Regions from separate parts of the Homo sapiens genome. Here region 1 is linked to region 2. Evidence: promoter capture Hi-C in human tissues and cell types (Jung and others, 2019). All regions are on one chromosome and are shown on one strand. Each heading gives the region's core, a stretch centred on a gene start or on the middle of the fragment in contact. The rest is flanking DNA. Distances are from core to core; before and after follow the strand shown. Region 1 overlaps PHC2 (polyhomeotic homolog 2). Region 2 holds the start of PHC2 (polyhomeotic homolog 2).

Region 1 (4,932 bases), core at 2,099-4,598, 87 kb after region 2:
TTCAGGGAAGGAGAGCCTCTTAGGAAGGCACTGTGCTGCTTCCCCTGACATACCTGCTCTGTCATTGACTTTCTAGTCTAAGCGGACTGACCCTGAGATTTCTCTTCCTGCCACCAAGCCCTTCCCTCAGCTATGACCCTGTGCCTGTTCCTTGCTCTGGCTCAGCCCCAGAATCCACTCTTTTTCAGACCACATCCTTTTTCCTGTGTTACTCATTTCCTGTCTCAGATACTTTGGATCCCTTGGTTCTGATCTTTCAGGGGGAGAGGGCATGTTAAGAGGAGTAAGTAGATGGATGATCTTACACAATTGAACTCTTCTTACCTCTGGCCTTGTATGCTCTTACATAGGCTGTCCCCTCTCTACATTTTCTTATTTAAGGAAAAACACAGAACATGATTATTGTCTCAGAATTAGGAACCCCTACTGGTGTGCTCGTAGGTGTCTTTTTGTCTACTTTTCTCTATTGTGAATGTGTAAAGGGGATGACCTCACTGCCTTAAACTCTTCCCTTAAGTCTCTGTCCTCCTTTAGGCTGTGGACCTCAGGCCAGGCGTTCAGTAACCATTTGCCAAGTAAAGTTCCCCCACCTCCTCACTTTCATCCAGCATGGATCAGCAAGCCAAAATAAAGTTAAAGTTTAAAAAACCTAGGGAATAGGTTGGTGACTCCAGTTCCTGTAATGCTGCTCATCATTAGTACGGTGTTTACCAAGAGTTTTTCCCTCTTCTTGAGTCAGTCTAAATTTATATTAAACTTCTCCCAGCTGTTCAATATTTAATCTCCAGACAGATTTAGTTCCAGCCATAGAAAGATTCTCTTCTGAAAGGACACCTACTGGAGACGAGAGTAGGGAAATGAGAATGAGGAGTCTTCATAATTGATAGTTTCTCTTTTATTCCCTTTGTTTTGTGCCATTTTGCTACTGAAAGATGATCATGATGATGACTTTCTGTGGTCAGGAGGAATCTCACAAAAGTGGTTGTAGAGAGAGGCTTTTGTGTACCCCTCAGGAGACTGTCCTGGAGTGAGGTGCCCCTCTGAGCCTGCCCACCCTCCCCACCTCCCCCCAGTCCCCAGCCCTATGGGAAAGCAGGGTGAGAACTGACTGCGTTATGCAGTCTACTCTGATGGGGACTTTGTGCCAATGACAGAAATGGCTCTCTCTTTGGGGACTTAACACCTTGTTTCATGGAACCCAAAACTGAACTACCCCTCAAGATGGGAGTCTGAACACATAGATTTATGCTTTAAATGTTTTTAGGGCATGGTTTAAACTATGAGTCACCAGTTAAAACCCTTTTTGAATATGTTTTCTGTTTTTAAAAAAAGTTGCCTATTTAAGATAACTACTTATTCACAACTCAAACAGAGGTAGGCTTCACTTGAAGCAATGACTTATTTAACATTTTTCATTTGAATTACTAGCCACATCAGAACACTGATTTGATATTTCTAAAGGTATTGAGAGGCAAACCATCTTTAATTCTGCTTTATGATGTGGATATTTTGGGAATTGTTAGGAAAATAATCAACCATTTGCATATCCAAGACATAATTATTACAAATTCTGGATTTTTCCCCATCAGTAACAAAAGTCCAGTATAAATGACATGGTCAAGAAATGGGCTCTTTTATCATAGTCAAGAATTATACAATTTAGAATTACTAGTTTTTGAAGAAAAAGTATGCTAAGGAACACAGCATATAATTTAAGTCATAAACCGTTGCTCTGAGATTCATTGTAAGACCATGTAGACCAGCATAGAAAACTTCAAGGTTTTTTTTGTTTCCTTCTCCTTCCAAATTATTTTTATAGTTAGTGAAAAAGGATATGCTTTCCTGTTCTTCCAATTTCCAAATGATATTTAGGTAAGTCCAAAAGAAGAGAACATTCTTTCTACATCTGGTAAAGACATGACTGCTGTTAAACACAGATTGCCAGTGCTCTGAGATGAATCCAGATGTTGAAGAGAGCCCCAGTTTGCTATTATGACTTTAAAACATAAGCAAATGTCTGTTTTTTTCAGATGATTGTCGTCTTAGCAGTGAAATTTATTATCATTTGTATTAAGAAGAGATGACTATTAGATGCCATGCCATAACCAACTCTTCTCCAGTAGATTAGGAGGACCAGGCCTGATACTGAATATTGGAACTGTTGGCAAGAAAATGAAAGTTCGTGACTGCTTGAGTTATTTTTAAAACTCTAGTTGCATGGCTGTTATGTCTCAAATACTATATAATTATCCCTAGTTACTGGTATCTTTAGCATATTTGAAACCATCCATATGTGACCTAAAGCCACACAGCTATATTAAGACATTTTTGAACAATCAAAGCAAATGACACTTTAAATTAAAACAAAACTAATATGAAGCAACTACTTTAAAAAAAAAAATTGGGACCAGGCACGGTGGCTCATGCCTGGGGGGCCGAGGCAGGAGGATCACTTGAGCGCAGGAGTTCGAGACCAGCCTGAGCAATATAACAAGACCTCGCCTCTACAGATAATTAAAAAAAAAAATTACCTGGGCATAGTGGCACACGCCTGTGGTCTCAGTTGCTCAGGAGACCGAGGTGGGAGGATCGCTTAAGTGTGGACAGTCGAGGCTTCAGTGAGCCATGATCGTGCCACTGCACTCCAGCCTGGGTGACAGAGCGAGGCCTCATCTCAAAAAATAAAAAATAAAAAAATTTGATTAAATCCATATTTTGAGGCCTCCAGTAATCAGTATTAATCTGTTCTATCAGTTGACTGGTGGCAAAATAGGGTTGACTGGAAGCTTAGACAATGGTTATAAGGAGGAAAGGAGTAATGTTTCCATGAGCAGAAATGATCAATAGAACTGATTTGCAAGGTATGTAGTATGTAGTCCATAATATAGACAGGACAACTGAGGCTTAGTGTTCCCTCCTCCCAGTCTCCCCTGACATTTATCTAACAATATTAGTGATGCTGCAGTTGATAACCAAAAAAATAGTCATCATATTGGGGAACATGGCTGCCTTTCCCTGTTATCAACCTGAAAATAATTGGAGAGTTTACTAAACATTTCTAGATTTCTTTTGTAAACCGGTAGAAATCCATCTTCCATGAGTTTATCTTAAACTGGGTTTATTTTTAGCCTTTTAAACTAATTTCTTTTCATAAGCTAAATCATCTGGCATTACAAGTTACATAAATTTAGTATTTTCTAAGTAAAGCAGTGCTTCCTTTTATTTGTCTTAAAGTTAACCTTTCTTTTGGTTTCTAGGGTTCTTCTGCACTGTCTGCTTAAAACCCCCCTTTATGAAAAAACTGCATAGAAAGAGAATCTGGTGCTTGTCTTCTTGTCCTTTAGATTAATAGCCATTGAAGGTGACTTGAGACTTTGCTTTGCCCTTTAGGACAGAAGCATTTCTGTTATGTTGCAGTCACAGTGGAGGTAACATTTCTTCCTGAAGCCTGACCTCAACAGTGCAAGGACAGGACTACCGACGTAGACCAAGACGTCTGAGGAACACAAACCTCAGATACCTCAGTTTGGGCCACGGAAAGATTAGCCCTGCTCTGGGGCTGTAAGAGGCCAGACTCAGTGAAAGAGTGAGATTAGAATGATTTCCTAATCTTCTCACAGGTCTCAGTGACGTTGGCACTCCTGTGTCCAAGCTCAGCCTAGTCCAGTGTGTTGTGCCTGCATTACATTATTTAATCCTCACCACAGCTATATGTAAGACAGATATAAGTATCCCATTTCATAGATGAGGAAAGAGGCCTAGAGTAACTTGTCCAGCATTACAGGATAGGATTTAAGCCTAGAGTCTTTTTTTTTTTTTTTTTTTTTTTGAGACAGAGTCTTGCTCTGTTGCCAGGATGGAGTGCAGTGGTGCAATCTCGGCTCACTGCAACCTCTGCCTCCAGGGTTCAAGCAATTCTCCTGCCTCAGCCTCCCGAGTAGCGGGGACTACAGGCGCTCGCCACCACACCCAGTTATTTATTTTTTTTTTTGTATTTTTACTAGAGACAGGGTTTCACCATGTTGACCAGGATGGTCTCAATCTCTTGACGTCGTGATCCACCCACCTCAGCCTCCCAAAGTGCTAGGATTACAGGCATGAGCCACTGTACCTGGCCGCCTAGAGTCTTTCTAATCCCACAGTCTTAACTGCCATGTAGCACAGCTTCTGCGTGTATTCAGTGCCAGGCATTTTACATATATAATATTTACTGAAACCTCCCAGACAGGTAGGTAGTATGAGCCTCGTTGTTACAGATGGAGAAACCAAGACTCAGAACAGGCAGTGAGTGCTTGAAGCCACACACCTTTGATTAAAGGTGGAACAGAATATGAGTCCAGGTCTGGCCCCCAGAGCCCATGCTCTTTCTACTCTGCCATTCTTCCTTTTATCTCCCCTGATCTTAGTGTCTACTGTAGAACCTCTCCCATTGGTTCTAGACATTTTGCGTTTTGAAATCATAGCATGGGCCGGAGCACTATGATGTGAGACTATCTGGGAGCCCTTGACCCTGGCATTGGATACCAGTGGACTGGCCTCCATCACCAGGGTTAAGTAGAACTCTTTGAAAACTCCTCCCTGACTCCCTGCAGCCAGGGCCAGCTATTATTCCCTGGTGTGTTGACCTGGTGGAAGTCACTCTGGTCCTGCAGGTGCTGCTGCTGAGTTTGAGCTCAGGCCCCTCTTGCAGTCCTCAGCCTGTGGGCTGGGAAGCGTTCAAGCAGCTGTTTGGAAATCCCCCACTGCTCCCGTTGTCCTGAACTGCATGGGGTGGGGGGAGGGTGGCTGTTCGCTCCATTGATTCCTTCCTGCATAGCTGGGGGTGGCAGCTTGGAGCACATTCAGCTGTTTACAATTCAGCTTATGTACACTTTAGCTGGGGATTGTGGGTGAGTCAGAAGGGCCGTTCTCTTTGCCTGTGTCCTGAGAGAC
Region 2 (4,727 bases), core at 1,118-3,617:
GTTCCTAGGAAAACTCCTGGGATAATAACAAAAATGACATTAGCTATCAATTATGGAGGGTTTATCCTTGGGCCGGGGCCTATATATGAAACGTTTATATATATATATATATATGAAACCGAGACTTTGGGAAGTTAAGTGTGTGTATATATATATACACACATACAGTAAGTCATTAAATTCTCACAACATTTCTATCCTATTTTACAAATGAGGAAATTGAGGCACAGAGAGTTTAAGTAACTTTCCCAAGGTCATACAGTCAATGAGTGGCCAAGTCAGGATTTTTAACCCAAGCAGGTCTGCTTCTATGTTTGTGCTCTTAAGCACCAGTCATGTTTTAGGAGGAAATTGGGTTTTAAAGCAGTCTAGGAAGGTGAAATGTACGTATATTCAAAATTACCTTTGATGATCCCTTTAAATGTCTATAAAGTTTAGCACATTTAGTTTGAGGCACAGAGCCCTGTCCAGTAATCCATAAATATATTAAAGTTAGAGAACCATGGCCAGATGTGGTAGCTTACACCTGTGAATCCCAGAGTTTTGGGAAGCCCAAGTAGGAAGATTGCTTGAGGCCAGAAGTTCGAGACAAACCTGGGCAACATAACAATTACCCGGGTGTTGGGGTGCATGCCTGTAGTCACAGCTACTCCTCGGGAGGCTGAGGCAGGAGGATCACTTGAACCCAGGAGTTCAATGTTATAGTGAGCTATGATCACACCACTGCACTCCAGCCTGGATGACAGAGCATAATTCTGTCTCTAAAAAATAAATAAATAAATAAAATTAGAGAATCACTGAGCTAAACAAGTCTGTACACAGATGTTTGTGTTTTTAAACTACTGTGCCTTTAGCTAAACTATCAAATCCCTAAGGTAAAAATGGAAAGACAGGCATAAGCCGGACGCGGTGGCTTATGCCTGTAATCCCAGCACTTTGGGAGGCCAAGGCGGGCAGATCACCTGAGGTCAGGAGTTCGAGACCAGCCTGGCCAACAAGGCGAAACCCTGTCTCTACTAAAAGTACAAAAATTAGCCGGGTGTGGTGGCAGATGCCTGTAATCCCAGCTACTCAGGAGGCTGAGTCAGGAGAATAGCTTGAATCCAGCAGGCAGAGGTTGCAGTGAGCCAAGATCGCACCATTGCACTCCAGTCTGGGTGACAAGAGCGAGATCGGACTCAAAAAAAACAAAAAACAAAAAACAGACAAACAAAAAAAAACAAAAAACAAAGGAAAGACAGAGAATTCTACAGTGCCCCTTACCTACCTGGTGACTCTATTCTCTTAATATATAGCCTCTGTGACCTTAACACATGTCACTTGTCACAAGGTATATTTGCTGTGGGATTAAGACGTAACACCATCATATCTTGAGAGGAGACAAAATTCTATTAGAGAAGGGATTCTAAGTCCAATCCTAAATTAAATAAATCTGATACAATGAGACTAGCTTTGGGGGCCAGATAAACCTGGATTTGAACCCTAAATCTGCTACTTACTAGCTGTATAACGTTGGGCAATTTGCTTAACTTCCCAAAGTCTCGGTTTCTTAATCCATAGAATGGTCACAGTAATTCCACCATGTTGAGAAGACTGAATTTAAAAGTTTCTAAAGTAATGAGCTTCAGTATAAATCAGTGTAACTCAGCATTAGCTCTTAATAGCTGTTTGACCTAAATTATGTCACATGGCCTCTCTGAGCCTCATTTTCTCTCCTTTGTAATACAGGCATAACTATTCTGCCTATTAATCTCAAAGGTCACTGTAAGGAAACAGTAAAACGCTGTACAAATTATGTACAAGGATTTTCTCAACTGCACAGCACACCTGAAATTGTGAGGAGGTGCTAGGAGACCCCTGCTGGATTTGAAAAAACTGGCGATTGTCCCGGGTCTGAAGTCAAAAATGATCTTAGATCTCCACTTTTGCCATTTAATGTTGTTGTATGATCTTGAGCGAATGATCTAACCTCTCTGAGCCTCCACTTTCCCTACTATCTAGTGGGGTTAATAGGACAGACATCACTTTCTGCAGCAAAGTGTTAAGGCACGTGGTAAGTGCTCAATAAATGTTGGCTGAATCTGGATCTCTCTGGCTGAGACAAATCTCTCCATCCGCAAGGTGGGAAAACTGCGCGTGGTCGCCATGTGGCGCTCAGGTAGAGGAGATGCTCCCGGGGGCACCGGGCTCCGGCACCTCCCCACTCCCCCGCCCACCCGCCCGTTGCCATGGCCACCGGTTCAGGCTGGGAGCAGCACTAAGGCGTGTTCCGCCCAATCCCCGCCCTTCTAGGGTGACCATTGGCTGGAGCGGCCACGTGACGCGCGCTGGTATGCTAATATATGGTAATAGCGCCCTCGCCCCTCCTCCGCGGGCAGCGTCCGAGCAGCCAGCAGGGTGCGCGGCGCCGAGCCGAGGGGGCGGGCTGAGGGGCGGCCCCCGGGAGAGAGCGGCCAGGTGGAGGAGGAGCGCGGAGGCGACCGCAGGTAACGGGCGGGCGCGTGCGCGCTGGGGCCAGCTCGCGGCTGACGGGCAGCGCGCGGGGGACACCGGCCGCCGCGCTGCCGGCTTAACCCTTTGGGCACCCAGCTGTCACGGTCGGGCCGGAGCGCTCGGCCGGGACGGGCCGCGCGGGGCGGGGCATTGCCATGGGCACGGACAGGCGGGCGGCAGGCGGCCTGACCCCTGGTCCGCGGCGTGGGGCCCGCGCTGGGAGCCCGCAGTCCCGGCCGGCGACCGGCAGAGCGCGGCGCCCCCGGGCCGGGAACGCGCAGCGAGGAGGGCTGCGGAGAGCCTGGGGCCGAGGCTTGCCGGGAACGGGAACCGGAACGGGAACGGGCCAAGGTCCCGTCAGTGACTCGCTTTCTCCGGGGACCGACCCCCCTCCTGCGGAGAGGCCCGCGCCGCGGCAGCCCGTGGTCTTGCGCGGCCTGCGCCTGCTCCGCTTGTCCCGCAGAGTGCGGTGAGACCCGGGCGTCGGGCCTGACCGGGGCGCCCGCTCCCCAGCCGCGGCGTGACAGCGCAGCCGCTGGCACTTTCGGCCCAGAGTCAAGCGTGGCGTGGGGGGCACCAGCAGAGGGAACCGGGGGTTGCTGGAACTGGGAGGAGAGAACAGTCGTCTAAAGGAAAAGCGGGCCCCAAGGTTGGAGAAGGAGGGATGCCCTAGAAAGGCGCTGGTCCCTTGTTTTCTGTGCTGAGTGATGACCTGACACCCATGGGAAAAGGTCGCTGCTGGACACCTGGATCGGGTCTGTCATACACGGAGGAAGCGGCTGTTCTACGTGAGTGTCTAACAAATTTCTTATAAGGCGAGGTTTAAATTCATCTTCCCCCCTCCCCAGGTCTGCTACAGAAGTGTCTTCTTGTAATTATCCCCCTCCCCCAATTCACTAAGACTGGTGGCAGCTTTAGGCTCACAGTGTAATTTAGCTTTTGCGACAATAGAAATGGTAGGAGGAGAGATGCGCCACTGATACTAAGCTTGCCCTGGGAGTTTCTTGGAAGTGTGGGGTAAAAAATATTTCTATCACCAGTGGGGATGAAAAATCGGCTAATGCGCCCGTGATATCAATAGAGTTTCTTTTGTGAGTCTAAAGTCGTTCCTTCTAAATCAAGAGAAAATGCGGTTACAATTGAAAAGTACCAGAAACCAATTTGATTTTGCAAGTGAAGTGCAAATTCCACTTCCACGTTGCTCTTGATGTCTTTTATCACCCAACAACAAATACTTGGCATATGCCAGGCACTCTGCTATGTCTTGGGGATGCAAAGATGAATAAGATAATTAGTCCTTGTCCTGAAAGAAGTGGTAGGAGAAACAAATGAAATTGCTAGTAAAAGTGATTAACAGCATAATAGATGTGAATGCAAAGGGCTTTGGAAGCACAGAGGAGGGAACAATTAGCTGTCTGAGAGGACCAGGGAAGGCTTTCCAGAGAACACATTTAAGCAAGGTGTTGAAGGATAAATAGGAGTTTACCTTGCAGAGAAAATTGGAAAGGACTGAAAAGGCAGCCAAAGCGGGGGAACAGCGAATGCAGCCACATAAAGAATATGTTATCTCTAGGGAATGGCTTTCTATTGTAACTATGGCTTTTTTTCCTTCCTCTGTAATGTAACTTTCTAAAAGTAGCCTAGAATTTCTTATTCCCAGCACAGTTGTCCAGTGATATTTTTCTTATTGTTTTCTCCCCCATATTTTCCCCTCATCAGTTTTTCTGAGCCTCATTCCTGGTCTTTGTCACCCATATCTTCCCAAGTAAGGGTCCATCATGTGGAGGTTGAATAGGAGTAGTTTTCAGTTGCTCCAAGGGAGAGGGCCTGAAACTGGGCATAATGTTTGGCACTAGAGGCAGCATCTGAGAGGGGCAAATCTAAATCATACAAAAAGAGAATACATGACCATAACTAGGGAAGCAATGCTGAATGTCAAATTTGTGAGACCTGGGGAAATAAGTAGTAAGATCAGAAGCTGGAAGGATCTGGATTAAGAGAGGATTGGAGTGTGAGATGGGTCAGGGCAAGTAGTCCAGGATTGAGACCATGAATCGTGCACATGCAGCTGAGCCCACTGTTGCATGGTGCCAGCTGTGCAGAACAGCGGTGGATCTGCCAGACTGGGCCAGGCCCTCCATAGGCTTTCCAATGCCTCCTCCTTTCTGTTCACCCTCCCTCCTTACTATTATCCTCTTCTCTTCATCCCAGTTTCCACCCATGTCTCATGCATT

Evidence for each region. Contacts are between HindIII fragments. The study calls those that stand out against the background at their distance.
Region 1: a fragment that was not itself captured here is called in contact with the fragment with the promoter of PHC2 in region 2 in 5 of the 25 tissues and cell types used here (IMR-90 fibroblasts, aorta, heart right ventricle and 2 more).

What each region holds. Positions count from the first base shown.
Region 1 is chr1:33,342,366-33,347,297 of GRCh38, reverse strand. All of the region lies in intron 9 of PHC2 (polyhomeotic homolog 2), which reads left to right. Among named protein-coding and RNA genes, the nearest start is that of PHC2-AS1, 5.5 kb to the left of the region's middle. RefSeq lists an enhancer at 4,460-4,932. The HindIII fragment of the contact is 8,646 bases long and covers 1-4,932 here.
Region 2 is chr1:33,428,735-33,433,461 of GRCh38, reverse strand. It overlaps PHC2 (polyhomeotic homolog 2), which reads left to right and starts at 2,367. Exons shown (of 15, transcript NM_001385109.1): 1 at 2,367-2,486. RefSeq lists a silencer at 2,164-2,683. The HindIII fragment of the contact is 10,287 bases long and covers 1-4,509 here.